7 separate regions of the Homo sapiens genome follow, and all the other regions are linked to region 1. Evidence: promoter capture Hi-C in 16 types of primary human blood cells and fetal thymus (Javierre and others, 2016). All regions are on one chromosome and are shown on one strand. The core of a region is centred on a gene start or on the middle of the fragment in contact, and the rest is flanking DNA. Distances in the headings are between cores, read along the strand shown.

Region 1 (4,155 bases), core at 567-3,066:
TAGCCATTTGTAAGTATACAATTCAGTTGCATTAATTACATTCTCATTGTTGTGCAACCAATCTGCAGAACTCTTTTCATCTTACCAAACTGGAACTCTGCACTGATTAAACAGTAACCCCCTGGTTGCCTGAGTCCCTGGCAACCACAAGTCTACTTTCTCTATTATTTTGACAACTCTAAGTTTCTCATATAAATAGAACCATATATAGTATTTGTCCTTTTGTGACTGGCTTATTTCACTTAGCTTAATATTCTTAAAGTTTATCCACGTTGTGGCATGTGTCAGAAATTCCTTCTTTATGAAGGCTGAATAATATTCCATTTTAGGTACATATTATGTTTTGTTTACTCATTCATCAGTTGATAGACACCTGGGTTGCTTCCACATTTTAGCTATAGTGCTGTGGTGAACACGGTATGCAAATATCTGAGACCCTGCTTTCGATTATTTTGGCTATGCATACCCAGAAGTGAAATTGCTGGCTCACGTGGAGTTCTATTTTTAATTTTTTGAGGATGTATATACACTTTCATGTAATCACTCCTTATTGAGCTTTACTGTCTACCACATCTAGTGTTCCTGAGTGTGGAAATTCTCTTGTTCACCTCCTGTCCTCACTCCCTTCCAATAAGCCATGTCTTGTTTGGAGGATGGGCATAGAGTTGAGAGTAGTGATCTGGATATGTGGGGTTGGAAAGGAAATTTGAGAGCCCAAAATTCTGCCTGTGAACTTTGAACTCAATTTTCCAATCTCCTTTGCTACAGCTAAGCTCTCCCACCCACATCCGGTGTTTTCCTGGAGGCTGTAGGTAAATGTGTCAAAAAATTCAATTCATTGAAAGCCAGTTCACTTAAATGTCCAACTTGCAATAACTTTTCTATTACCTCCTTTTTTTTTTTTTTTTGACGGAGTTTCACTCTTTCACCCAGGCTGTGGTGAAGTGGGGCGATCTTGGCTCACTATAACCTCCGCCCCCGGGGTTCAAGCGATTCTCCTGCCTCAGCCTCCCAAGTAGCTAGGATTATAGGTGTGCACCACCACGCCTGGCTAATTTTTGTATTTTTAGCAGAGACAGGGCATCACCATATTGGCCAGGCTGGTCTCGACCTCCTGACCTCAGGTGATCCACCCACCTCGACCTCCCAAATTGCTGGAATTACAGGCGTGAGCCACCGTGCCCGGCCTCTATTACCTACCTCCTTACGTTTAGTTATCATTTTGTCTCCATAAAAGCATTTTAAGGCAAATTCAATTTGATTCCGTTCCAGTTTCCTTGCTGTTGCAGCTAGAGTCTGAGGGGCCCAGAGGAAAAGGAAAACCCAGAGGGGCATAAGAAGAATATAGAATATTCATTTTTATTCCTGAGGAAGTACAACCACCATGGATGGAAATCAGAAGTCACTAACTAGCTGTTTACTTCTGGGCAAATCTTTTGGCTCGTTGGCCCGAAAAGTGCAAAACGAGGGTCACAATTTTCATTCACAGATTGTATGTGTTTACACACATACTCACGAACGCTTAGCAAAGTTGAACCTGGAGCAAATGTGTTAATAGCCCTTAAAGGGTCAGTGTATGACGTCACCATAGTAACAACAACAGTGCGCATGCGTTTTTTTTTAAAGAGCCGGCGTGCTCCCGGCTCGGCTCAGCTCGCCCCCTTCCGTGGAGTGCTGCGCCCCCGTTTCCCCAGGCTGCCCCTCCCAGCAGGAGCCAATTCGCCAATCACAGCCCTCCTTTTCCTGACGTCATTGGCGCGTGCCCCGGTTTCAAAAGCTCGGGGGCGGGCTTCTGAGTTCGCGCATGCGCCTCTGTGCGTTTGTCCCATGCTGGTTCCGTGAGTCTGGCCTTAGGTGTCTCGTGTCTGGGGTTGATCCGAGCTGTCGCCGCCGCCGCCGCAATGGGCAAAACGGCCAACTCTCCGGGTTCGGGAGCCCGACCCGACCCGGTGCGGAGCTTCAATCGCTGGAAGAAAAAACACAGCCATAGGCAGAACAAAAAGAAGCAGTTGAGGAAGCAACTGAAGAAACCCGAATGGCAGGTCGAGCGCGAGAGTATCAGCCGCCTCATGCAGAACTATGAAAAGGTGAGGCCGGCGCTGGGGAGGGGGCTCGGGCCGGCCAGCAGCGGGGCAGCGTCTCACTGCGGCGAGGAGTTGCAGAGTGGAGGCGGCGGATCTGTCACCGGGACCCGGCCGGGAATGAGAGGTCACGCCGGGTGCCACAGCTCAAACCTCTGCACCGTTCTGGCCACTCTTCTGCTTGCCACACTGTTCCTAAAAAAATAATAGAAATGCGGCCGTACCTAAGGGTAGGGAGACTAATGCTGTAATAGCTACAGTCATATTCATATTAATAATACTGATGACAATAGTGGTAATAATGACACCTACATTTTTAAGCACTCACCATGTGCTTACAGTAATTGTTTGACTTGATCTGAGGTATGGATATTAATAATCCTATTTAACAGATGAGATAATTGAGGTTCTAAGAGGAATGAAACTTGTCCGAATCTTTCACGCTTAGTAGGTGGTGTGGAATTGGAAGCTAGATCCATGTCTTTCTAATCCCAAAGCCTTTGCTTTTAACCATGAAGCCAGACTGCATCCCTCAACATCATCTATGCTCCTTCCTGTGGCCACCTCATTTTCTCCACAGGCTTCATGTCCCCATCCAAGAATTGGCCTAGAAAAGCTGGACCGCTGGTCTGTTTCTGTCACCTATCATCCCCACATTGTAGCTGGTGTTCCCAGATGAGTATACCTGTAATGATCACTTTGACCTCCTGACTTCTTCCCCCAACCTCCAGACTCCACAGGTCTGTCAATTCCTCTTTTCCCTTTCCCTAAATCCCATGTTTGTTGGTCTTCACCCACATCTTTCAGCTTCTCAGCCCCCTTCTAGTGCAGTACAATCAGGGATTTAACAGATGGAACATTCTTGTAACTAAGGTTGCCATTGTAACAAATTACCACAAACTTGGCGGCTTAAAACAACAGAGATCTTGAGGTCAGGAGTTCGAGACCAGCCTGACCAACATGGTGAAACCCCGCCTCTACTAAAAATACAAAAAAATTAGCTGGGCCTAGTGGTGGGTGCCTGTAATCCCAGCTACTCGGGAGGCTGAGGCAAGAGAATCGCTTGAACCCGGGAGGCAGAGGTTGCAGTGAGCCCAGATCGCACCATTGCACTCCAGACTGGGTGACATGAGTGAGACTCTGTCTTAAACAAACAAACAAAAAAGCCCAGCAACAACAGAGATTTACCTTGTCACAGTTCTGGAGGCCATACGTCTGAAATCAGTTTCACTGGGCCAAAATCAAGGTGTCAGCAGGGACTTGCTCCCTCCAGAGGTTCTAGGGGAGAATCTGTTTCCTGCCTCTTGTAGCTTCTGGTGGCTGCTGGCATTCCTTGGCCTGTGGCTGCATAACTCCAGTCTCTGCCTTCTCCTGTGTCAGTCTATCTCTGTTCCTCTGTTATAAGGGCGCTTACGATTGCGTTTAGGGCCTACACAGATAATCCAGGATAATCACCCCATCCCAAGATCTTTAATTTAATCACATCTGAAAAGTCACTTTTGCCATGTAAGGTAACATTCATCCCTTCCAGAAGTTAATACATGGACATGAGTTGGGATCATTTTCAGCACCACATCCTAGCTCCACCATCTCAGCAGACCGTAGAGCTAGAAACCTAGGAGCAGTCTTAGCTACTTCTCTCTTACCTACTCTTATATCCAGTCGGTCACACTGCTGATCTGTTCTGCTTACATTTTTCAAATGCTTCTTCATCCCTACTGCATTGTCTTCAGTCCCCATCATCTCTTGCCTGGATTACTATAGTAAATATTGCTTTCAACAGGGATCAGCAAACTTTCTCTGTAAATGATAGTGAATGTTTTCAGCTTTGTAGTCCTAAGGGTGGAACTACTCAATTGTTCCCTTGTAATACAAAAGCTGCCATAGAAATACTTAAATGAATGGGTGTTGTTTTTCAGTAAAACTTTAATTAGTGAAACAGGTGGCTGATGGGCTTTGTCCCCTAGGCCTTAAACCTTTTAATTTGTCCTCTGTACTTCTGCTAGAATGATTCTTTCCAAGATGAAGATCTAATCATTTTACTGCCGATTAGAACCCTTCCTTGGCTCACAGT
Region 2 (4,155 bases), core at 617-3,116, 670 kb before region 1:
TATCCACCGTAGAACTTCTTTCAAAATCAGAGTCAATCCTCTCAAACCCTGCTGTTGCTTTATTAACTAAGTTTATATGATATTCTAAATCCTTCATTGTCATTTCAACAATGAAGGATTCAGCATCTTCACCAGGAGTAGATTCCATCTCAAGAAATCACTTTTCTCTGCTCATCCATAAGAAGCAACTCCTCATGCATTCAAGTTTGATCATGAGATTGCAGCAATTCAGTCCCATCTTCAGGCTCCACTTCTAATTGTAGTTCTCTTGTTTTTTCCATCCCATCTGCAGTTACTTCCTCCACTGAAGGCTTGAACACCTCAAAGTCATCCATGAGGGCTGGAATCAACTTCCTTCAAACTCCTGTTAATGTTGCTATTTTGACCTCCTGCCATGAATCACAAATGTCCTTAATGTCATCTAGACTGGTGAATCCTTTCCAGAAGGTTTTTGATTTATTCTGCCAAGATCTGACAGAGGAATTGCCAGCTATGGCAGTTACAGCTTTAGGAAATGTATTCCTTAAGTAATAAGACCTGAAAGTCAAAATGACTCCTTGATCCATGGGCTGCAGAATGGATGTGAGCTAGCAGGCATGAAAACAACATTCATCTCTGTTCATCTCTGTCAGAGCTCTTGAAGCATTTTTGATGAACTGTAGCATTTTGAAAGAAATCTTTTTTTCTGAGCAGTGGGTCTCAACAATGGGCTTAAAACAGTAAACAATGCCACAAACATATGTGCTTTGTCTAGGCTTTATTGTTCCATTTCTGGAGCACAGGCAGAGTAGATTTAACATAATCCTTTTCTTTTTTTTTTTTTTTTTTGAGATGGAGTCTTGCTCTGTCACCCAGGCTGGAGTGCAGTGATGCGATCTCTGCAATCTCGGCTCACTGCAACCTCGCCAAAGTACTGGGATTGTAGGCGTAAGCCATTGCACCCAGCCAATTTAACATAATTCTTAAGGGCCCTTGGATTTTCTGAATGGTAAATAAGTACTGACTTTAACTTAAAATCACCAGCAGCATTAGCTTCTAACAGGAAAGTCAGCCTGTCCTTTGAAGCTTTGAAGCCAGGCATTGACTTCTCTAGCTATGAAAGTTCTAAATGGCAACTTCTTCCAAAAGAAGGCTATTTTGTCTACATTGAAAATTGTTTATCACAGTCACCTTCATCAGTCATCTTAGCTAGATCTTCTAGATAACTTGCTGCAGCTTCTACATAAGCATTTGCTACTTCACCCTGCACTTTTAAGTTACGGCGACAGCTTCTTTCCTTACACCTCATGATCCCAACTATGCTAGCTTCAAACTTTTTTTTTGCAGCTTCCTCTCAGCCTTCATAAAATCGAAGAGTGTTAGGGCCTTGCTCTGGATTAGGCTTTGGCTTAAGGGAACGTTGTGGTTGCTTGGATCTTGTATCCAGACCTCTAAAACTTCCTCCATATCAGCAATAAGGCTGTTTGGCTTTCTTATCACACAGAAAGGGTGTGGCCTTGGGTAACGTGGCTCTCTGCCACTGAGGCAATCCCTGAGGAAACTGCTAGCTGAATGTTGCCTGTCAACAGCACTGCCAGAATCTGGGGCAATAAGTCTTTCACAGAGGGATGATCAGAGTGGGGTATCTCAGTGTCCATCTTAGAAGATTATGAATTAGAAAGACTTAAGGGATATATCAACCACCTATATTGTGTTGATCATATGTTCCTGATTCAACCACAGAAAAGATTTATGTGGCTGGGCATGGTGGCTCACACCTGTAATCCCAGCACTTTGGGAGACCAAGGTGGGAACATTGCTTGAGTCCAGGAGTTGAGCCTGGGCAACATAGTGAGACCCCATCTCCACAAAAAATACAAAAATTAGCTGGGAGTGGTGGAATGTGCCTGTAGTCCTAGCTACTTGGGAGGCTGAGGCAAGTGGATCACTTGAGCCTAGGAAAGTGGGGCTGCAGTGAGCTATGATCACACCACTGCACTCCAGCCTGGGCAACCGAGCACGACCCTGTCTCCAAAAAATAAAGGAATGATGTGACAGTCAGGGAAATTGGAATACTAAACAGTGATATTAAAACATTATTGTTAGCTTTTTGGTGTGATAATGGTATTATTTTTCTAAAGAGCTCTTATCCTTTAGAAATACATACTAAAATGTGTATGAATGAAATGATACGCTATTGATTACAAGTGGGTTGGAGTATACATGAAATAAGAGTGACTATGAGTTGCTGGTATGTGTAGAAGACAAACAATGGCCCCCTAAAGATGACCACATCCTAATTTCCAGAATTTGTGAACATGTTACCTTACACAGCAAAAGAGACTTTGCAGATGTTGTGATCAAGTTAAGGATCTTGGGATGGGGAGTTTAACCTTTTCCAGATGGCCACAATATAATCACAAGTGTCCTTATAAGAGGAAGGCACGAAGGTTAAAGTTAAAAAAAAAAAAGACCACGTGTAAATGGAAGTAGAGGGGAGCAGATCAAAGACAGAAGATGCTACACTGCTGGCTTTGAAGATGGAGAAAGGAGCCACCAGCCAAGGAATTTGGGCAGCTTCTAGAGGCTGGACAAGGCAAGGAACACATTTTTCCTGAAACCTTTAGAAGGAGTGCAGTCCTGCTGACACCTTGATTTTAGCCTTCTGACCTCCAGAACTATAAGAGAATAAGCTTGTATTGTTTTAAGTCACTAAATTTATTATTTATTTATTTATTTTGGAAACAGGGTCTTGCTCTGTCACTCAGGCTGGAGTGCAGAGGTGTGATCTTGGCTCACAGCAACCTCCACCTCCTGGGCTCCAGCTATCCTCTGGCCTCAGCCCCCCAAGTAGCTGGGACCACAGGCACCCGCCAACATGCTTGGCTAATTTTTTTGTATTTTTTTGTATAGATGGGGTTTCACCACATTGCCCAGGATGGTCTCAAGTGATCCTCCTGCCTCGGCCTCCCAAAGTGCTGGGATTACAGGCATGAGCCATCAAGCCTGGCCTTCTTCAACATTTTTTTAAGCCCATATCTTAGTATGTCCTTCCACATTTTATCTCCCTAATACATTTTCAATTGTCTTGTCAAGTTTCTGTTAAAAAAATGATTGAAGTATTATATTGAAATTTTATTGAATATGCAGATTAATTTGGCAGAATTAATTTCATATTAGAGGTGAATGTAACAGGCTGTTCCTGCTAGTCTGAGTTGATTGTGTATACCTAGTGGGAAGATTCAGGCTATCGTCCCTTCTAAGTTTCAAGAATTGAAGGGAGGTCTGTGGTTCTCCAGCCAGTCCACCTATGACAGAATGCACAAGTTCTATTCAAACAAAAGAGAGGGAAAAATGACCAGCTGGGGCCTGGTGTGGTGGCTCACTCCTGTAATCTCAGCACTTTGGGAAGCCAAGGTGGTGGATAACTTGAGTCCAGGAGTTTGAGACAAGCCTGGGCCACACAGTGAAACCCCATCTCTACAAAAAAAGCAAAAAATTAGCCAGGATGCTCAGGAAGGCTGAGGTGGGAGGAACGATTGAGCCCAGGAAGCTGAGGTTGCGGTGAGCTGTGATCTCCCCAACTGCACTCTGGCCTGGGCAACAAAGCTAGACCCTCTCTCAAAAAAAAAAAACAAACAAAAAAAAAACCACTTGACCTTTCAAGATGCAATCTACAATACAGCTTTACTACCACAATGTAAATATTTTAAGCCCTGTTTGTTCCCTTATGCATATTCTCAATTGGCTCATAATTAGCATTTCTAATTATATTTTTTGAAATCACCAATATATTTTAGATAGCTGACTAAATTATGGAGCTCAATGGAGCAGAACAACATAAGCAGAATTGATCCTGAGCATTTTGAAGCATGCCTTGGAGACTAACAAAATAAAACAAAATTTAAAAGTGATAGGGGAAGTGGAGGCTAGTAAAAGGAGCAGCAAAATTTAGGTATTAATGTCGATGTGGGCCAGGAGCAGTGGCTCATGCCTATAATCCCAGCAGTTTAGGAGTCCGAGGTAGGTGGATCACTTGAGGTCGGGAGTTCGAGACCAGCCAGGCCAACATGGTGGAACGCTGTCTCTACTAAAAATACAAAAATTAGTTTGGCGTGGTGGCGCACGCCTGTAATCCCAGCTACTAGGGAGGCTGAGGCAGGAGAATTACTTGAA
Region 3 (4,155 bases), core at 969-3,468, 640 kb before region 1:
CTGAACTAAAATTTATTTACAGATGTCAGATATTCAAACCATTCGTGGAAATGTAAGGAAAATCAAAAGAAGTCTTTTGTACAACAGATACCACATTACAAAATTTGTTGGCCTTTATAATCCCCAATTAGTGAAATGCCATATATTTGCAATAAAAAAAAATAGTAGAAAATCTTGGAGTGGAATGATTAAACAAAGACAGTAGAAATGAGAAATTTTTGCTAAATTCCATCCTTCCATAATCTCAATTTCAAGCATCCTACTTGATTACCTGTTACCACCCTGTCTTTCTGACTCTCTCTAGTGCTTTTATTCCAACAGTCCACCTCCACTACTAAAGCCTTCAGTTCAGTGACTCTGCTACCTCATTGTTTAATGTCTTATATCTGTGGTTTATAGTTTTTATCAAATTAGAAAACATTTTTGCATTTTTCTTCAAATACTCTCTACACCCTTACATCAAGATTCCAATTATGTGTACGTTAGGTCATTTGATGTTCCACAGCTTACTGATACTCATTTAAAAAATATTTCTATGATGTTCATGCCATCCCATACCTTTTTGGTCATATAGAATATGTATAGTAGCTGACTTAATGTCCTTGTTTACTGAATGTAACACCTGTGTCATTTCTGGGTCAGCTTCTTTTGGTGATTTTTTTTGTCTTGGTGATAGTTTATATTTTCCTGTTTCTTTGCATGCTTGGTAGTTTTTAACTGGATGTCAGACATTGTGAGTATATGTTTTAGGGGCTTGATTTTAAAATTTTTCTCTAAATAGTTTTGGATTTGGCTGTGATGCAGTTAGGTAACTTGGAATCAGTTTGATCCTTTTGAAGCTTACCTTTAAGTTTCGTTAGAGTGTGTCCAGAATATCACTCGGGGTAGGGCTACTTTGGCTCCACTATAGACTCAATAACTTTCTGTGGACTCTACCCAATGCCTGGCACTTTAAAGGGTGTTTCCACTCTGGCTGGTAGCAACACTAACTGTTTCTGGCCCTGTGTGCACTCTGCTGATTGTTCTGCCCATTCCCATTCCTTCCTAATGGTTCTTTCCCCAGTCTCTTACAGTTTTCTCACACCCAGGTACAGGTTAGTACTCAGCCACAGGCCTCAGGGACCTTCTGTATAGATACCCAGAGCTCCCTTGATGCCACAAATTCTAGTCACCTCAGCCTTTTCAAACTCTGAACTCTGCCTCTTAAATGTAGTGAAACCCCTAGCGGCTGTTTGGGTTTCCCCTCCTTGTGATGAGGCCTGGAGACACTCTCTAGGCAGTATGTTTGGACATTTGTAGCGCTCACCTCATTTGTTTTTCTTTTCTCAGGAAGCGCTGTCCTGCACTGCTTTTGGTTTTCTAGTTTGTTTAGGCAGGAGGGAAAATCTGGTTCCTGTTATTCTGTCATGATGGGAAGCAGAAGTCTCTTTCTCTTTTCACCTTGAAGTCCATTTTCTCCGCCTTACCCAACATAAATTCTCTTCTCAATCATTATAGTTGTTCCCTTCAATACACTTTTTGCTTCCTTGCCCCTGTCTTGTTCTGCTTGGGAAAAGTGTACAACCCTGGTTAAATCTGTCTCTTCACTTTTCAGTGCCAGTACCTGTGCAGCTGAATGTCACTCGAGAAAAAGACACAACCGTGCTATTTGCACCTTAAATCCATGACCACAATGAGGCCAGTCATACTGCATTTCCAGAGTCACTTATTCTTCCACTTTCCTAGATGTATTTTTCACATCTTTTCTGTCAACATTCTAACATTTCCTCCCCGATCTTCTCAGACATTGTCGTTATTTCCACATCACTGGGAAATTAAAGCAATAAAATATGAACTTCTCAGAGTCGTACGACATCTATCCTTGTACCAGCACCTACATGTACATTCTTTTGCCTTCTCCTCTTAGCCTGTAGTCACTTCCTCCACATATGCGCTAGATCCCATTCCCTCTTGCCTATCCAGTGCAATTTAAATTCACTAGCAGTTTCTCTCCCTTTCCCCACATCATCAACATTTCATATCCTGGAATGTTCCTGTCAGCATACAATCATACTGTATCCTAGCTTTAAAAAATTATTTGGCCAGGCGCAGTGGCTCACGTTTGTAATCCCAGCACTTTGGGAGGCTGAGGTGGGCGGATCACGAGGTCAGGAGTTCGAGACCACCCTGGCCAATGTGGCGAAACCCCATCTCTACTAAAAATAGAAAAATTGGCTGGGCATGGTGGCGGGCACCTGTATTCCCAGCTACTCGGGAGGCTGAGGCAGGAAAACCACTTGAACTTGGGAGGCGGAGGTTGCAGTGAGCAGAGATCACGCCACTGCACTCCAGCCTGAAAGACAGAGTGAGACTCCGTCTCAAAAAAAAAAAAAAAAAAATTATTATTTTTTCACTTCCTCTCACCCTATCAATTACCATGCCATTTCTTTACTCTCTTATACAGGAAAAATTGTGAAGGGTTGTCTGTACTCTTTCTAGTTTTCTTCTTATTTATTTTTGTTTTTATTTACTATTTGTTTTTTGAGATAGGGTCTCACTGTCGCTGTCGCCTAGGCTGGAGTGCAGTGGCGCCATCATGGCTCACTGCAACCTCCGCCTCCAGGCCTTAGTAGCTGGGATTATAGGCGCCACCATGCCCAGCTAATTTTTTTTTTTTTTCTTTGAGACAGTCTCCCCCTGCTGTCCAGGCTGGAGTGCAGTGGCACAATCTTGGCTCACTGCAAACTCCGCCTCCCAGGTTCAAGCAATTCTCCCACCTCAGCCTCCTGAGTAGCCGGGATTACTGGGGCCTACCACCACACCCAGCTGATTTTTGTATTTTCAGTAGAGACAGGGTTTCACCATGTAGGTCAGGCTGGTCTCGAACTCCTGATGTCAAGTCATCCACCCACCCCGGCCTCCCAAAGTGCTGGGATTACATGTGTGAGCCACCGTGCCCAGCCAAATTTTTTGTATTTTTAGTAGAGACAGGCTTTTTCCATGTTGCCCAGGCTGGTCTCGAACTCCTGGGCTCAAGTGACCCGCCCGCCTCAGCCTCCCAGTGTTGGGATTACAAGCATGAACTATTGCGCCTGGCTCCTCGTTTCTCTTAATTCCACTCTTCATTCCACTCTAATCTGGTATTTGTCCTTACTACTCTGCAAAAACTTCTGTGGACAAAGTTTCAGTAACTTCCATATTGCTGTTTCAGTGGTTATCTTACCTGATCTGTCAGGAGAAATTCTTAAAATTGATTATTCTGTCTTTCTGACACACTTTATTTACTTTTTGTCCAGAATACCATACTCTTGGTTTTCTTGCCACCTGTGCTCTGGTTGCTCTCTTTGTCTCCTTTGCTAGTTCTTACTCCTCTCTCCGCCTCTTAATGTTGGATATCTAAAACCTCAGGCTTGGGTCTCCATCTTTATGTATCACTTCTCTCACAGTGATCTCATCCAATAACAGGTTTTAAAACCCATCTGTATTCTGATGACTTCAAGTTTTTATTTTCTGATAGGCCTTTTAAATTCTAGATTTCCATATTGGACTGCCTATTCAACATTTTCATATGAATGTATAATAGATATGTTAAATGTAATACATCTAAAACCAGTCTCACAAGCTTTCCTTAATAAGCCTGTCAAATCTTCTTTTATTCTAGTTGATGGTAGTGCCACACTTACTGGACAAAAGCCTTAAAGTCATGCTTTACTCCCATTTTCTCATATCTCAGATGCTTACTGTTAGGAAGTCCTGTTAGTACCACCTTTTGGGCATCTAAAATTGAACCACTTCTCATACCTCCTACCTCCATTGCTATCACCTCAGTCCAAGTCACCATCAGTGCTTCCTAATCCTACACCCAGTTTTAACCCTTGCCCCTTATAATATATTCTCAACATAGTAATGAGGGAGATTTTAAAATGTAAATAAGATTATGACACTTCAGGCCAGGTGCGGTGGATCACACCTGTAATCACAGCACTTTCGGAGGCCGAAGCGGGCGGATCACAAGGTCACGAGTTAGAGACCAGCCTGGCCGACATGGTGAAACCCCGTCTCTACTAAAATACAAAAATTAGCTGAGCGTGGTGGTGCACACCTGTAATCCCAGCTAGGGCAGGAGAATTGCTTGAACCCAGGAGGCAGAGGTTGCAGTGAGCCGAGATCGCCCCA
Region 4 (4,155 bases), core at 776-3,275, 610 kb before region 1:
ATAGACTGAGAAATCTTTCACTGTTACATCGGTGGCATTCTGTTGGTCAAAGTAAATCACAGGACCAGCCCAAACTCTAATAGTGGGGAAATAGACTCCACCACCTTTTTTTTTTTTTTTTTTTTTTTTTTTTTTTTTTTTGAGGTGGATTCTCACTTTGTCGCCCAGGCTGCAGTGCAGTAGCGCGATCTCGGCTCACTACAACCTCCGCCTCCTGGATTCAAGCGATTCTCCTGCCTCAGCCTCCCGAGCAGCTGAGATTACAGGCGCATGCCACCATGCCTGGCTAATTTTTGTATTTTTAGTAGAGATGGGGTTTCACCATGTTGGTCAAGCTGGTCTCAAACTCATGACCTCGTGATCTGCCCGCCTTAGCCTCCCAAAGTGCTGGGATTACAGGCATGAGCCACCGCACCTGCCGTGACTCCACCACCTTTTAAAAACTTGAGATATAATTAATATACCATAAAATTTACTCTCTTAAAGGATATGATTCAGTGGGTTGTAGTATATTTCATAAAATTGTGCAACCATCACCCAATAATCCCAGAATATTTTCATCACCCTAAAAAGAAATCCTATACCTATGAACAGTCACTCCCTTCTCCCAACCCACTAAATCACTAATCTGTTGTCCCTATGGATATGTCTATATTTGACATTTTCTGTAATTGGAATCATAATATGTGGCCTTTTGTGACTAGTTTTCTTTCACAATATTTGTTTCTCTTTATGGCTGAATAATATCTATTGTTTGGATATACCATATATTGTGGGGTTTTTTGGTTTCTTTTTTCATTTGTTTAGTTTTTTTTCAAGCCAGGGTATTGCTCTGTCGCCCAGGCCAGAGTGCAGTGGTGCAATCATGGCTCACTGTAGCCTCAACTGCTGGGGCTCAAGCAATCCTCCCACCTCAACCTCCTAAGTAGCTGGGACCACAGGCACGCACCAACACACCCAGCTAATTTTTTGTATTATTTGTGGAGATGAGGTCTTGCTATGTTGCCCAGGTTGGTCTCAAATTCCTGAGCTCAAGCAATCCTCCCGCCTCAGCCTCCCAAAGTGCTGGGACTACTGTATGAGCCACCACGCCTGGCCCATATATTGTTTATCCGTATTTCAGCTAATGGATATTTGGGTTGTTTCTATTTTTTATCTATTTTGAATAATGCTGCTGTGAACATTCGTGTACAAGTTTTTTTGTGAACATGTTTTAATTTCTTTTGGATATAAGAGCTTGTACAATAATTTAAAAATTATGTACAATTTAAATTTTGGCATGAATATGTTCTTAATTTTTCAAAGCAACTGCATTTATTTCAAATTGGTACACCTCTTTTTTTCAGCGAGTACTGAGCCATCAAGATGATACGGCTTTGCTAAAAGCATATATTGTTGAATGGCGAAAGTTCTTTACACAATGTGATATTTTACCAAAACCTTTTTGTCAACTAGAGATTACTTTAATGGGTAAACAGGGCAGCAATAAAAAATCAAATGTGGAAGACAGTATTGTTCGAAAGGTAAGACTATTTTTCTCCTTGTTTTCCTAATATTCTTCAGAAAGAGGGTAATTTGGAAGCATTTGAAAGTAATTTGAACTTTTAAGTGGGTTTTTCTACTTCACATGTCAATTGCTTTTCAGCTCTTAACTAGATTTTATTGAATAATATTCTTTTTTGTCTTTAGCTTCAATCTTCTTTCATCTTTTTATGTGGTCTTAAGCTATAGATCTGCATCTTCAACCATTATCTCCTTTACTTTTCCTTTTTACTTTCTCCTTCTCCTGGTATTCAGTATTTTATTTCTCTATTCTTTCTTTGTACTCTTTTTTTTTTTTTAAACTGGAGTGTCACTCTGTCGCCTAGGCTGGAGTGTGCAGTGGCGCAGTCTGCTCACTGCAACCTCCGCCTCCTGTGTTCAAGCAATTCTCCTGCCTCAGCCTCCTGAGTAGCTGGGACTACAGGCACGTGCTACCACACCCGGCTATTTTATTGTATTTTTAGTGGAGACCAGGTTTCACCATGTTGGCCAGGCTCGTCTCGAACTCCTGACCTCAGGTGATCTGCCTGCCTCAGCCTCCGAAACTGTTGGAATTACAGGCGTGAGCCACTGCACCCAACCTATACCCTTACTAGAAATTAAATTACTTTTCTCCCTGTCTCAAAAATCCCCTTTTATTAGGTTACCTTCTGATATCTTTATGTTTAATTGTGGCTAAACTGCTATCTTTATAATTTCCCTTTTACTTAACTCTTCTATTATAAATTCAGTATATACTGTGCTTATTTTCTATTTAAAAATTGTGTCAAGTAACCAGTCATGATTTAATGGAAAGAACTCAGTGCTGAATATGAAGGGTCCTAGGTTTCCCTTTCAGCTCTTCAAACTCCGTCCTCATTTTCCATATATCTTTCCACTTGTAAGAATAAAATGGGACCGTAGATTTGAAAAGTAAAAAATGCCATTTGAACTTTAGTCAATTTACTGTTTACTGTGATGGTTACAGTAAAACACTCAGGCATTACAATAGTGTAACCTGGGCATTGTTGCCCCATCCCAGCCTTAAAATTTGATCTGATGTTGACAGGGATACTGTAAATTTAGATACCCAGTGGTTCTTCAGTGATAGAAATCACTGCAATATGGGAAATTTGTGCCAAGGGAAAAAAAAAAGTGAAAAACACTTCTGGCTGCGATTTAATTTGTAGTCTCATAATCTTGTCCTCTTTTTTTGGCCATTCTATTGGTTGTGGGAAGCAGCATCCACTTAGTGATTAAGTGTATCAATTCTGGGGCCACAGTTTTTGGATTCAAATCTCAGTGTTGCCACTGATGAGGTGCATAAATGTGGAAAGTTAGCTTTGCTATCTGTACCCCAGGTTTCACATATCTAAAGGGGGGATAATCATAGTACCTATATCAAGATTATGAGGATTAAATGAGTTACATGCAGACAATACATAGAGCAGTCCCAGGTATAGAATGAGTGTTATAAAACTGTTAACTCTTGTTGTTATTGTTGCTGTCATTAATGTATCTCCTACATCTGACCAAGTTTCTTGGAGTACTGATATAATCACCAATGTTTATATACCATTTTTATCATTTTAATGGAACATCTAAACAGTAGATTTGCAGACCTTTTATAAGGTCCAGTATCAGATTTTCAGTTGGTCCTTTTTACATTTTTTATGTGTCTTTACAAACATATGCATATGTCTATTTCAAACACACCAATATATCTGAAATTCAACCATGGAACTATAGGAGAATAAACATTTTCCATGTATTATCATAGTTAATTTTTACAACCACTGAAATTTGCACTATTATTTTGACCATTTTATACATAAGAAAGCAGATAAATAAGTAACAGCTGGGATTCAAATCCAGTTGGATTCTGAAACACTTGTTCTTTATTTACTTTTGTTTTGTTTGAAATGGGCTCTTGCTGTGTTGCCCAGGCTAGAGTGGAATAGTGTGATCTTGGCTTGCTGCAGCCTTGCCCTCCTGGACTTAAGTGATCCTCCCACCTCAGCCTCCCAAGTAGCTGGGACTACAGGCACATGCCAGCATGCCTAGCAAATTTTTGTATTTTTTGTTGTTGTTGAGATGGGTCTTACTGTGTTGCCGAGGCTGGTCTCAAACTCCTGGCCTCAAGTGATCCTCCCACCTTGGCCTCCCAAGGTTTTGGGATTAGACCACACGCAGTCGACCCTTCTTTACCATTATGCTAAATATACTGCTTCCCCGAAGTATTCAAGTGAATGCAACCTAAGTTATTTTGAGACAGGGTCTTACTCTGTCACCCAGGCTGGAGGGCAGTGGCGTGGTCTCGGCTCACTGGGACTACAGGCGTGCACCACCACACTGGGCTATTTTTTTTGTATTTTTTTGTAGAGACAGGATTTTGCCCTGCTGCCCAGGCTGGTCTTGAACTCATAGACTCCAGCGATCCACCTGCCTCGGCCTCCCAAATTGTTGGGACTACAGGCGTGAGCCACTGCACCTGGCCCAGGCCTACAAATTTGATTTCCTTTTTTGGTGTTTGTACATGATACTTTGTATATTAATAATTGAAAATTATGTTACAATTTGTTCTTGTTTTCCTAGCTTATGCTTGATACATGGAATGAGTCAATCTTTTCAAAC
Region 5 (4,155 bases), core at 1,050-3,549, 600 kb before region 1:
ATGGCTTCTATCTCATTATTTGTTATTGCTTGCCTAGAAGTTACAGTCCTTGTGGCCTAGACTGCCTTTCAAGTTTATTTGGAGCCCCAGAGTACTTTAGCTTATAGTGCGAGGCTTGCTAGAACTCAAGTCCTTACCACTGGAATGGGCGATTCCCCTCTGTCTAGGGCTGGTCTAAATGCTCCCTCCATGGGCATGTGTCAGCTGAGTTCATCCTACTTTTGCTTTCTGCTGTGAAAGGGTGGTGGTGAGTTCAATGCAGTATCTCACAGTTGCTGCTCTCTCCCTCTCCCAAGCACACAGATTCTCCATGCCATACAGCTGCTGCTGGGGGATGAGGGAGGGGTAACATTGGCGATTCAAGACTATCTTTCCTACCCTCTTCAGTGCCTCTTGCAGTGACATGAAGTTAAAACCAGGTACTATGAGTGCCCACCTGATTTTTGGTTCTTATGAAGGTGTTTTTTTGTGTGTAGATAGTTGTTAAATTTGGTGTTCCTGCAGGAGGAATGATCGGTGGAAGCTTCTATTTGGCCATCTTGCTCCACTCCTCTATTTTTTATTATTTTTTTTAGAAACAGGGTCTCACTATGTTGTCCAGCCTGGTCTGCATATTTATTCTTATTCCTGACCATTTGTATTTATTCTTTTGTGAATTCAGGATAATCTTTCATAAACATCACTTTTATTGTTTTACTTTTCTATTCAAAAACTAGAGTACTGGCTGGCCGTGGTGGCTCACGCCTCTAATCCCAGCACTTTGGGAGGCTGAGGCAGGCAGATCACAAGGTCAGGAGATCAAGACCATCCTGGCTAACACGGTGAAACCCTGTTTCTACTAAAAATACAAAAACAAACTTAGCCAGGCGTGGTGGTGGATGCCTGCTGTCCCAGTACTCAGGAGGCTGAGGCGGGAGAAATGGTGTGAACCCAGGAGGCAGAGCTTGCAGTGAGCCAAGATCACGCCACTGCACTCCAGCCTGGGCGACAGAGCGAGACTCTGTCTCAAAAAAAAAACCAGAGTATCATTATTTCATACCCCTGATTTTTAAGACCCTTCATAATTTGACCCTAACCTATTTTTCTAACTTAATATTGTCCAGCAAGAGTCACTCTACTCCAATAAGAAATATTTTTTTATTCATACAACTCACTCTGTTACTTTTTTTTTTGGATTCATTTTAGCAGTGTTTTCTTCTGCCTACCCAAAATCTTGCAAGGATTCTTTTAACTCACCTTGTAATAAAATTGTAATAAAGTAGCTCAGATCATCTAGCCTTCATCAGTTTCTTCCTATTTGAATTCCCGTGGTAACTATTGTTTCTACCACTAGGTTTAGGAGCAAATTATAGACTGCCTTGTATTTCTTATCAAGCACCAGCTGTGTGCCAGGACACAGCACAGTCTTTATAGCTGTGGACAGAGCACAATCTTTGTCCTTAAGTTTATAGTATAGTAATGATGCATTTTCCAGTTATTTGCTTATTAGTGAAGATCTTCTTTTCATACACATCTGTACATATGAACCATACACATGTTTTTAGGTATATAGTTTATGGGTTTCCAACTGGATTGTAAGATCATTGAGGGCATGAACCATGTTTATACTTCTCTATTCCTTAAAACACGTAACTCAGTTCTGAGCATGTAGCCATCACTAAGTATGTACATGCTCTACTTCTGTAGTAAGAAAAGTTGGAGGCTATGGAGATACATACCTGGCCTCAAATTATAACTCAAGACCTTATGAACCAACTGTGCAACATTTGGAAGTTATGTGGCTACTCTCAGTCTATGTCCTCATAAAGTAAGTATCTGCCTCATGAGGTTGCCATGTGGGTTAAATGAGATCTATATGTAAAGCATTTAGCATAATGCCTGGTACAAAGTAAGTGCCCATTAAAGGATACCTGTTATAATAATTTGTTTAACCTCTCAAGCTAGAAATGGATTCAACATCCTTTTATTTCCCTAATCCCTTTCATTTAAGCATTTACCAAATTCTTCTCAGTTTACTTTAATTATGTTGTCAATTTAGCTCTCCTTTTAATCCTCGTTGTAACCCACCATAAGAAATACATTTTATATTGTGGCTTAGAATATACTGTTTATTTGTACATATCTGAAACAAAAGTCTTATGAAATAATATTCATTGTTACAATATGTGATACACTCTGATATTTTTTGTTCTGTCCTATGTACATTTTTTTTTTTTTTAAACCTGGTCACAGCCATTAAAACTGATTTCACAACATACAGTCTGAAACACACTGGTCTGGATTTTTAGAATCTGCAAAATTTCAACTACCACTGAACAGGATAATGTTCAAGTGAAAGTTTTCAATGAAATAGAAAACACAGAGCTTAGAGTTTATTAGGATTCCACTTTGTCTTTGTTCTCTATTAGTTATATATTGTTAGATTTACCTATGCTCAATCTGGTTTCACTGCTTAAGGTGGAAGTGTTTAGTTGGGCCTATTCCAGTGATGTTATAGAATAAGATTACTCAGCAGTTGGGGCAGAGATTTCCACCTTGCAAGGAAAGAGTTTCTTAACCATTTTATATGTGTAGTCTTTTCTTTATTTTTCTTTTTTTTTTCCTTTTTTGAGACGGAGTTTTGCTCTTGTTGCCCAGGCTGGAGTGCAATGGCACGATCTCGGCTCACTGCAATCTCTGCCTCCCAGGTTTAAGCAATTCTCCTGCCTCAGCCTCCCGAGTAGCTGGGATTACAGGCACCCACCATGCCCGGCTAATTTTTAGTAGAGATGGGGTTTCTCTGTGTTGGTCAGGCTGGTCTTGAACTCCTGACCTCAGGTGATCCGCCCGCCTTAGCCTCCCAAAGTGCTGGGATTATAGGCTATGAGCCACCACGCCCAGCCATGTGTATTATTTTCTTAGGACAGAAATATACATGGATATATGCATTTAAAAGTCATCAGCATCATTCTTGTAGAGGAGCCTGAAAAAACCTTTTTTTTTGTTTTGTTTTGTTTTGTTTTGTGACAGTCTTGCTCTGTCGCCCAGACTACACTGCAGTGACATGATCAAGGCTTACTGCAGCCTTGACCTCCTGAGCTTAACTGACCCTCCCACCTCAGCCCCCCAACTCGCAGGGACCACAGAAAATTCTTTATTCGGAAAATTTTAAGCATTTTTACAATGTAGGAAGAACAGTATAATGAATCCCCATTACCTAAATTCAGCTTTAGTAGTTACCAACATTATGTCAATTCCAAAGGAATTTTTAATAAAAAATTTTTAAGGGACACATAATTGCCTCCCTTAATTTACAGATAGATGATTTGTTTTTCAGAAGAAATATATCAGCCTTATTGTACTTAACTTTAGTCCTCACAACCTATTAATTTCATCTGATCCCCAAAAGAGAAGTAAATAATTACATGACACGAGGGAGCAGAGATGACATGATATCTTCTGCCTCATTTAGATTTTCCTGATGGCCTCCTAGAGCACTAGACCCTTGCTATCTTACCTGAAATAGTTCAACAGCCTCGTTACCATATCCCAACCACCCACTCCTTACCACCTGCCTTACTACCATTATACTGATCTTTAATAATGACTTGAGGAGAGGAGAATCTCATTACATTTATCCTCTGTTTAAAACTTCCTTGGGGCCAGGCCTGATGGTTCACACCTGTAATCCCACACTTTGGGAGACTGACAGGGGGATCATGTGAGACCAGGAGTTTGTGACCAGCCTGGGGAACATAGCAAGACATCATCTCTACAGAAAAGTTTAAAAAATTAACCAGACTTGATAGTACATCCCTGTAGTCCTAGCTACTCAAGAGGCTGAGGCAGGAGGATCACTTGAGCCTAGGAGTTCAAGGCTGTAGTGAGGTATGATAGTAGCTATGTAGTAATGCCACTGTACTCCAGCTTGGGCAGCAGAGCAAGACTCTGTCTCTTAAACAAACAAAAAAACCTTCCTTTGTTCTTCCTTCCCTACCTATGAAATAAAACCCCAAATCATAGATTTTCATTCATAATCTGGTTGCAGCCTATCTTTCTAGCCTTCTCTTCCACTGTCTGTTTCTTCTCTACCATTTTAAGCTTCCTGGTATTCCTAGAATACGTAACCTATTTTAGGGCTTGTACTTACTTTACAGGATCCCATTTAGATACCAA
Region 6 (4,155 bases), core at 961-3,460, 570 kb before region 1:
AGTGTATCAGGACTGGGTATTTCTCAGAGATGGATAATTCAGTAGGCCTCTATCTGTATATGCTCATAAAAGTTTCTGACTTGTGACAATTGGTGGATATAGAAAGGTCTAAATTCGAGAGATGGTAAGAGTATATAAGAACTGAAAGTAACTTTATTTTTCATACAGCTCTTGGTACTTAAGTATGTACAGAACAAAGATGTTTTTATGAGGTATCATAAAGCTCATTTGACACGACGTCTTATATTAGACATCTCTGCCGATAGTGAAATTGAAGAAAACATGGTAGAGTGGCTAAGAGTAAGTAAATTTTTTTAAATATTTGGTTTTCTAATACATTACATCATTTATATGTGTGCTTAAGTAATACATTTTGGAGATATTGTTAATGTCAAAGAAGTAGGAAACATTTTATAAGAATATAGCGTCAGTTAGGCCGGGCGCACTGGCTCATACCTGTAATCCCAGCACTTTGGGAGGCCGAGGCAGGTGGATCACCTGAAGTCAGGAGTTCAAGACTAGCCTGACCAACATGGCAAAACCGCGTCTCTACTAAAAATACAAAAATTAGCTGGATGTGCTGGTGCACTCCGGTAATTCCAGCTGCTTGGGAGGCTGAGGCAAGAGAATCACTTGAACCCAGGAGGTGGAGGTTGCAGTGAGCCAAGATCGTGCCATTGCACTCCAGCCTGGGTAACAGAGTGGGACTCCATTTCAAAAAAAAAAGAATATACCATCAATTATATAAAATAAAGTGATATCTAATAAATGTTCTTAATACTTTCAGTAAAGTATCTTTGTTCTTGAGTTGTTTCTACTGTTTCACTCCCATTTGTACCTCAACTCTCATTTAAACTGACCTTATTAATAAATAGACTACAGGGGCTGGGCACGGTGGCTCACACCTATAATCCCAGCACTTTGGGAGGCCAAGGCAGGTGGATCACAAGGTCAGGAGATCGAGACCATCCTGGCTAACACAGTGAAACCCAGTCTCTATTAAAAATACAAAAAAATTAACGAGGCGTGGTGGTGGGGGGCCTGTAGTCCCAGCTACTTGGGAGGCTGAGGCAGGAGAATGGCATGAACCCTGGGGGGCGGAGCTTGCAGTGAGCTGAAATCGAGCCACTGAACTCCAGCCTGGGTGACAGAGCAAGACTCCATCTCAAGAAAAATAAAATAAATAAATAGACTGCAGGACAAATTATTATATCTTTAAGGTATTTTCAGTACTAAATGCTTAACTTTAGAGATGTTTATAAATGATAACAATAAATACTTCTGTATAGCAAAAAGAACCTTTAAATGATGGCCTATTTAGGGTAATCAATGCTGATTATAACTAAATTCCCATATAAAGTATTTTGAGTTCTTTTTTTGTTTTAATTATTAAAGTAAATATCTTTAATTTCTGTGTATGTATATAACTCTCTCCACATATATATGGAGAGAGAGAGAGTGCGAGCAAGCACACACGAGAGAGACCTACAGATATTTTAACTTATAGCTAGCCCTTCGCATGGAACTTTAGGATAGTAAAAATTACTGTGCTAACTGAAACTGCTTAGTAGGAAAAAGAATGATTATTCTGTGACTTTTTAAAACTATTGTCAAAAGACTCAAAACTCTTACTGTCACTTATAAGTATATAGGAAAAAGGGGAAAATAGCAAAACTAATACATATTTACTACGAGAAACCTTTAGAATTAAATTTTCTTTCTTTCTTTCTTTTTTTCTTTTTTTTGGAGATGTAGTCTTGCTGTGTTACCCAGGCTGGATTGCAGTGGTGCAATCTTGACTCACTGAAACCTCTGTCTCCCAGATTCAAGCAATTCTCCTGTCTCAGCCTCCTAAGTAGCTGGGACTACAGGTTTGTGCCATGACGCCTGGCTAATTTTTGTATTTTTAGTAGAGACACGGTTTTGCATGTTGGCCAGGCTGGTCTTGAAATCCTGGTCTTAAGTGATCCGCCTGCCTCGGCCTCCCAAAGTACTGAGATTACAGGCGTGAGCCACCACACCCGGCCTATGTTATTTCTTTGTTAAAAAAAAAATATCAAGACCCAACAGTAAAATGACAAACAAGGCTAGGCATGGTGGCTCACACCTGTAATCCCAGCACTTTGGGAGGCTGAGGAGGGCAGATGGCTTGTGCTCAGAGTTTGAGATGAGCCTGGGCAACGTGGTGAAACCCCATCTCTACAAAAATTTAAAAAATTAGCTGGGTGTGATGGCATGCACCTTAGTCCCAGCTGCTTGGGAGGCTGAGGTGGGAGGATCGCCTGAGCCTGTGAGGTGGAGGTTGCATTGAACAGAGATCTTACCACTGTACTCCTGCCTGAGCAACAGAGTCAGATCCTGTCTCTCTCACTCACACACACACACACACACACACACACACACACACACGACAAATAATTAAAAGCAGGCAAAGGATTCGAATTGACATCTCTTCACAGAAGATAGACAGATGGCCAATAAGTGCATGCAAAGATACTCAACATCATTAGTCATTAGTGAAATGCAAGTGAAATGCTCAACATGTTGGCTCCTGCTTATCCCAAATATTTTGAAAGGCTGAGGTGGGAGGATTGCATGAAGCCAGGAGTTAGAAACTACCCTGGGCAAAATAACAATACTCCATGTCTACAAAAAATACAGAAATCAGCTAGGCATGGTGATGTGTGCCTGTGGTTCTAGCTACTCAGGAGGCTGAGATGGGATGATTGCTTGAGCCCAGAAGTTCAAAGTTGTAATGAGCTGAGATTGTGCCACTGCACTGCAGCCTGGGCAACAGAGTGAGACCCTTTCTCAAAAACAAAAAAAACACAAAGAGATACTACTTTATTCCCACTAGGGTAGCTAAAATAAAGACAGATGATAACAAATGCTAGTAAGGAAGAGGAGAAATTGGAACCTTCGTAAGTTGCTAGTGGAGACATAAGATGGTGCAGACACTTTGGAAAACTGTTGGGCAGTTCCTTAAAATGTTGAACGTAGAGCTGACCCAGCAATTTCACTCTTAGGTAATTCATTTGAAGAGAAATGAAAACATGTTTCATGTAAAAACTTGTAAACAAATGTTCATGGCAAGATTACTAATAATAGTCAAAAAGTGGAAACAACCCAAAATGTCAGTGAGCTAATGAATAAAATGTGATTTATCCATACAATGGAATATTTTTTGTGATAAAAAGGAATAAACTAATAATACATGCTGCAATATTAGGTGAACTTTGAAAACATAATGCTGAGTGAAAGAAGCCAATCCCAAAGACCATATCGTATGATTCCACTAATGTGAAGTGTCCAGAATAGGCAAATCCACAAATTCCAGGAGTTGGGGCCAGGAGGGGAAATGACGAGTGACTGTAAATAGTATGGGGTTTCTTTTTGGGGTGATGAAAATGTTCTAAAATTAGATAGTGGTGATGGTTGCACAGTTCTGTAGATATACTAAACTTCATTACACTGTATATTTTATTTTTATTTTTATTTTTTATATTTTTTTGAGACAGAGTCTCACTTTGTTGCCCAGGCTGGAGTGCAGTGGTGCGATCTTGGCTCACTGCAACTTCTGCCACCCAGGTTCAAGCGATTTTCCTGCCTCAGCCTCCTGAGTAGCTGGGATTACAGGCGCATGCCACCATGCCCAGCTAATTTTTGTATTTTTAGCAGAGATGGGTTTCACCATGTTAGCCAGGCTGGTCTTGAACTCCTGACCTCAGGTGATCCACCCGCCTCAGCCTCCCAAAGTGCTGGGATTACAGGCATGAGCCCAGCCAAATTGTATACTTTAAAATAGTAGATTTTATGGTAGATAAATTATCTGACACAGTAAAGCTGTTAATAAAGAGTAGTTTGAATAGCTTTTGCCTTCTTGTGTAACTTGACAGAGTAAGCATCTTTTCTTTGCCTTGGAGAGTTGTCACACCCCCTGTAATTTGGATGATCTTCTAGCATTTTATCTTTTGGGCTGTCAGTGTCATGAAATACTGAGAATTCCTTTATAGCATTTTTGCCAGGATCACTTCTTCTAGGGTATCTTATCTTTTTTGTCACTCACCACTTTTATCTTTTATGTTGGTAATTTGCTTTCACTAAGTTCCTCAACACTGGCATTGTCAGCCTTACTACCACAGTCAGCTTTCTTCT
Region 7 (4,155 bases), core at 1,556-4,055, 560 kb before region 1:
AAATGAGGATCTTGAAATAAATTCTGAAGTCTTCCAATTTTTACATTTATTGGAGGGGTCCCTGAGTTCTGTCAACTTTTTTATTTAAGTCTCTTGCTCTTATTTTGTGCATAAATGTTAAACCTTCCAAAAATGAAATGTTAGCTTTCTTTCTTTTACTTTTTATTAAATTTAATAGAAAATATGACCTGAGTAGTTAAAAAGTATTTTGCATTATTTGCAGTAAGATGTCTCTAGCACTGCTCAAAGGGCAAATTTTAAAACTTCAGTCTGGGTGAAAGATTTGCTAGTTTTACAGAAAGATTTGCTATCTTAAACTCAAGCTGGTTTTTCTGTTCTCATGTAAGTGACTGGGATGCTGTCTTATGAATTCTTCCAAGGTCATGTTTGTGAAATAAACATTACATGAGAGCTTTCCTGTCATCTACACTATATGTTGTCTGGAGTGTTGAACAAATTTATTTTAGTTTCTAAGTTGTAATCTATCCTCATATGGTCTATACGATTTTGAATGTGTGCCACTACATACTGAGATGATAATGCTGTACAATTTTAAGTGGTAGCAGTTTCTGTATGCAGTAGGCTGAAATATTTTGATGAACTGCTTAATTTTTGGATTTTATTTTTTAAGTTGTATAATTTATTTTCTTGCAAAATAAAAATGTAATATAAAAGCTTTTACCTATCCAGAAAATGTTGATGTTCTACTATAAAATAGTTACAAAGAGTTTAATTAAAATTTTTATAGTAGGTATATTTTTAAATTTGAAGGTAAATTAATCTCAGCCAGCCTTAGGAATCAGAAATATGAAAAGTAACCCACTTATTTATATTAGACTTCAAATTCTAATTCAAAATGAGAGCAGTCAGGAATGTAGCTTTTCCACTGATGATAGCATGTGGCTATATGCCTGGAAGAGGTAATAAAAAAAAAAAAATTCCAACCTGAAAGTGGTTAATATATTCATCAACTAAGATAGGCTATGTCATAACAAAATTCAAATTTTATAGCAGATAAAAGTAAAAAATGGGCCGGGCTCAGTGGCTCACGCCTGTAATCCCAGCACTTTGGGAGGCCAAGGTGGGTGGATCACCTGAGGACAGGAGTTCAAGACCAGCCTGGCAAACATGGTGAAACCCTGTCTCTACTAAAAATATAAAAATTAGCCGGGTGTAGTAGCGCGCGCCTGTAGTCCCAGCTACTCGGAAGGCTAAGGCAGGAGAATCGCTTGAACCCGGGAGGCGGAGGTTGCAGTGAACCAAGATTGTGCCACTGCACTCCAGCCTGGGCGACAGAATGAGACTGTCTCAAAAAAAAAAAAAAAAAAAAAAAAAAAGTAAAAAATGTAAAACATAATCATTTCACATTTTGGATATATTTGAAAATTTGTGAAATACTTATTTTTGTTTTTATTTTTATTTTTTGAGACAGAGTCTCACTTTGTCACCCAGGCTGGAGTGCAGTGGCGCGATCTCGGCTCGCTGTAAGCTCCATCTCCTGGGTTCATGCCATTCTCCTGCGTCAGCCTCCCGAGTAGCTGGGACTACAGGCGCCTGCCACCACACCTGGCTAATTTTTTGCAGTTTTAGTGGAGACAGGGTTTCACCATGTTAGCCAGGATGGTCTCAATCTCCTGACCTCGTGATCTAGCTGCCTCGGCCTCCCAAAGTGCTGGGATTACAGGTGTGAGCCATCGCGTCTGGCCTGAAATACTTATTTTTAAGCTAGAAATAGTTTGGCAATAAGGTTGTGAAACTGGACAGATAATAGCAATTAGTTACTGATCAAGTGAACAATTTAATAATCGAAAAAACTCTTGACTATAAGAAACTTGAATTGCATACAGGGACTTAATTACCCAGAGGAACTAAATTTAAAAGAAATTTCAGGCTGGGCGCAGTGGCTCACACCTGTAATCCCAGCACTTTGAGAAGGTGAGGTGGGCAGATCACTTGAGGTCAGGAGTTCAAGAACAGCCTGGCCAACATGGCAATACCCCATCTCTACTAAAAATACATACCTGTAATCCCAGCTACTCAGGAGGCTGAGGCATGAGAATCACTTGAGCCTGGGAGGTGGAGGTTGTAGCAAGCTGAGATCGCACCACTGCGCTCCAGCCTGGGCAACAGGGCCAGACTAATTCATTCATTGATTCATAAATAAATGTTATAGAGCTCCTTTACATTGAGGGATCATTTCTTGTTCCTACTGTAGTAGTCAATAAATGTTTTGGACAACTGGATGGAGGAACACATTTGACTTCATAACGACTCTAAACTCAACCTTGGACTTAAACTGGCATTTGGGAGTTTGGGGTTGGGGGAGGAGTTGACTTGGAAATGAAGCTAGAGAAGGTATTTTCTCAGTATAAAATTTCATCTGAACCAAGAAACAGATTTCATTTAAACCAAGAAATAAGCTTAAGCTTTTGGGCCCCTTGTACAAGGCTCTGGGAGGGGGAGCCCTACAAGTTTTGTATTTTCTTAAAGAGGGTCCTCAAAATATCAAGTTGGATTCAGCCCTGTTAAACCTCAGTGTAAAAAGGGCACATAGTAGGACTGAATGAATGATAGCACATGTGCCTGAGAATATAGTTCAATGTTTTAGTTCTTTTTTTTTTTTTTTTTTTTTTTTTGAGATAGAGTTTCTGTCACCTAGGCTGGAGTGCAGTGGCACAATTGCAGATCATTGCAGCCTTGAACTCCTGGGCTCCAGTGATCCTCCCACTTTAGCCTCCTGAGTAGCTGGGACCACAGGCACACACCACCTAGGTAATTTTTTTTTTATTTGCCTAGGTAATTTTTTTTTTATTTGCGGAGAGGAGGTCTCACTATGTTGCCCAGGCTGGTTTCGAACTCCTGAGTTCGAGCAGTCCTCCTCCCTTGGCATCCAGGAGTGCTGGGATTACAGGCATGAGCCACCGCACTCGGCCAATATTTTACATTTTAAGTGTGGAGACTTTATTTCCCATTCCCCATTCTGGGCTATACAATAGAATATGGACTTTTTATATCACGGAACTCCTGTTTTGACAGTGTACAACCCAGAGCAGGGTGACAATTTAGATTAACAATTGATGGTGAGAGTTGAGTTCTAGACTTTTGTGAACATCTGATTAAAGCAAAATACATGCATATAAAAATATAAACAAGTGCATATATAAATGTTAAGAGTTAACACACCCAAGCTTAGAAATCTTTAATAGTGATGTCCTGGAGTGCGTAAAATGAGTAACAGCTTGCTTTGTGGATTGGTCATGGCCTAACTTCAGGAGCGCTGATCCAAACTTTGATTTGCTCTACTTATCTAGAGAATAACAGAAGACTTCTCTGAGTGTTAATGGCTTCTTCCTATTTTACTTAATAATAAAGGAAATAGAGTATTTCCTTTTTTCCTTTATTATGCTGTAATTACTGAGCCAGACTGATACTGTTTAGATTTTTCTTCAGCAGTGGTTGATGGTCGAGGTGTGGCTCACACCTCTAATCCCAGCACTTTAGGAGACTGAAGCAGGAGGATCACTTGAAGCCAGGTTCAAGACCAGCCTGGGCAGCATAGTGAGGCCCCCATCTCCACAAAAATGTAAAAATTAGCCAGCGGTGGTTGGTTGCACAAACCTGTAGTCCCAGCTACTCAGGAGGCTGAGGCTGCAGTGAGCTGTGATTGTGCCACTGCACTCCAGTCTAGGGAACAGAGTGAGACTCTGTCTTAAAAATAAGTGGAACTTGGGAATACTTTAACATGTTGTTTTCCCATGGCTGCTAAATGTATAATTATTAATATTTACCCCTACTCTACCTTATCTCCTAAATTCTCAGTAGATGATATTGCTTTGAAAAAATAAACAGAGAAAATAAGGCCTTCAGGCATGAACTCTTAACTTGCCTTTTCTCCACCTGTAAACTTTACCTCTAATCATGTACATCTTCATCTGCCTGCCTGTCTCAGAGGAAGAGATCACCTCACTTGTTGCTCAAGACCAACTATTTTATCTTTTTCTGAATTCCATCCTCTCCTTCCCTCTGTGTTTTGCCTTTTAAATATCTCCATCGCATAAATGTTTCAAACATTCTTCTTTTGGATATTTTTTTCTTCGCCTACTCCAGTGGCTCTCCATTTTGGTCCACAGACCGGCAGCATTGTCACTTGTTGGA

What was found. The method cuts DNA at HindIII sites, captures the fragments that hold promoters and counts their contacts. A CHiCAGO score of 5 or more calls a contact.
Region 2: a fragment that was not itself captured here is called in contact with the fragment with the promoter of DDX10 in region 1 in 5 of 17 cell types (total CD4 T cells, total CD8 T cells, fetal thymus and 2 more); the score reaches 8.9 in total CD4 T cells.
Region 3: a fragment that was not itself captured here is called in contact with the fragment with the promoter of DDX10 in region 1 in 9 of 17 cell types (naive CD8 T cells, naive CD4 T cells, total CD8 T cells and 6 more); the score reaches 10.1 in naive CD8 T cells.
Region 4: a contact is called between a fragment that was not itself captured here and the fragment with the promoter of DDX10 in region 1, in 4 of 17 cell types (non-activated CD4 T cells, naive CD8 T cells, total CD4 T cells and 1 more). The highest score is 8.4, in non-activated CD4 T cells.
Region 5: a contact is called between a fragment that was not itself captured here and the fragment with the promoter of DDX10 in region 1, in 5 of 17 cell types (total CD4 T cells, naive CD4 T cells, fetal thymus and 2 more). The highest score is 9.3, in total CD4 T cells.
Region 6: a contact is called between a fragment that was not itself captured here and the fragment with the promoter of DDX10 in region 1, in 6 of 17 cell types (naive CD4 T cells, total CD4 T cells, naive CD8 T cells and 3 more). The highest score is 11.0, in naive CD4 T cells.
Region 7: a contact is called between a fragment that was not itself captured here and the fragment with the promoter of DDX10 in region 1, in 7 of 17 cell types (total CD4 T cells, naive CD4 T cells, erythroblasts and 4 more). The highest score is 11.1, in total CD4 T cells.

The regions. Positions count from the first base shown.
Region 1 is chr11:108,663,253-108,667,407 of GRCh38, forward strand. DDX10 (DEAD-box helicase 10) reads left to right here and starts at 1,817. Exons shown (of 18, transcript NM_004398.4): 1 at 1,817-2,087. The coding sequence starts at 1,902. The HindIII fragment of the contact is 12,853 bases long and covers 1-4,155 here.
Region 2 is chr11:107,994,734-107,998,888 of GRCh38, forward strand. No RefSeq gene overlaps it. Among named protein-coding and RNA genes, the nearest start is that of CUL5, 12 kb to the right of the region's middle. The HindIII fragment of the contact is 1,607 bases long and covers 1,064-2,670 here.
Region 3 is chr11:108,024,630-108,028,784 of GRCh38, forward strand. The region is part of intron 1 of CUL5 (cullin 5); the gene reads left to right. Among named protein-coding and RNA genes, the nearest start is that of CUL5, 18 kb to the left of the region's middle. RefSeq lists an enhancer at 1,292-1,391. The HindIII fragment of the contact is 2,762 bases long and covers 838-3,599 here.
Region 4 is chr11:108,048,544-108,052,698 of GRCh38, forward strand. It overlaps CUL5 (cullin 5), which reads left to right. Exons shown (of 19, transcript NM_003478.6): 4 at 1,347-1,523; 5 at 4,117-4,155. Among named protein-coding and RNA genes, the nearest start is that of CUL5, 42 kb to the left of the region's middle. The HindIII fragment of the contact is 4,378 bases long and covers 1-4,155 here.
Region 5 is chr11:108,065,337-108,069,491 of GRCh38, forward strand. The region is part of intron 7 of CUL5 (cullin 5); the gene reads left to right. Among named protein-coding and RNA genes, the nearest start is that of ACAT1, 54 kb to the right of the region's middle. The HindIII fragment of the contact is 3,557 bases long and covers 522-4,078 here.
Region 6 is chr11:108,089,324-108,093,478 of GRCh38, forward strand. CUL5 (cullin 5) reads left to right here. Exons shown (of 19, transcript NM_003478.6): 13 at 169-300. Among named protein-coding and RNA genes, the nearest start is that of ACAT1, 30 kb to the right of the region's middle. The HindIII fragment of the contact is 5,776 bases long and covers 1-4,155 here.
Region 7 is chr11:108,107,088-108,111,242 of GRCh38, forward strand. CUL5 (cullin 5) reads left to right here. Exons shown (of 19, transcript NM_003478.6): 19 at 1-674. Among named protein-coding and RNA genes, the nearest start is that of ACAT1, 12 kb to the right of the region's middle. The HindIII fragment of the contact is 762 bases long and covers 2,425-3,186 here.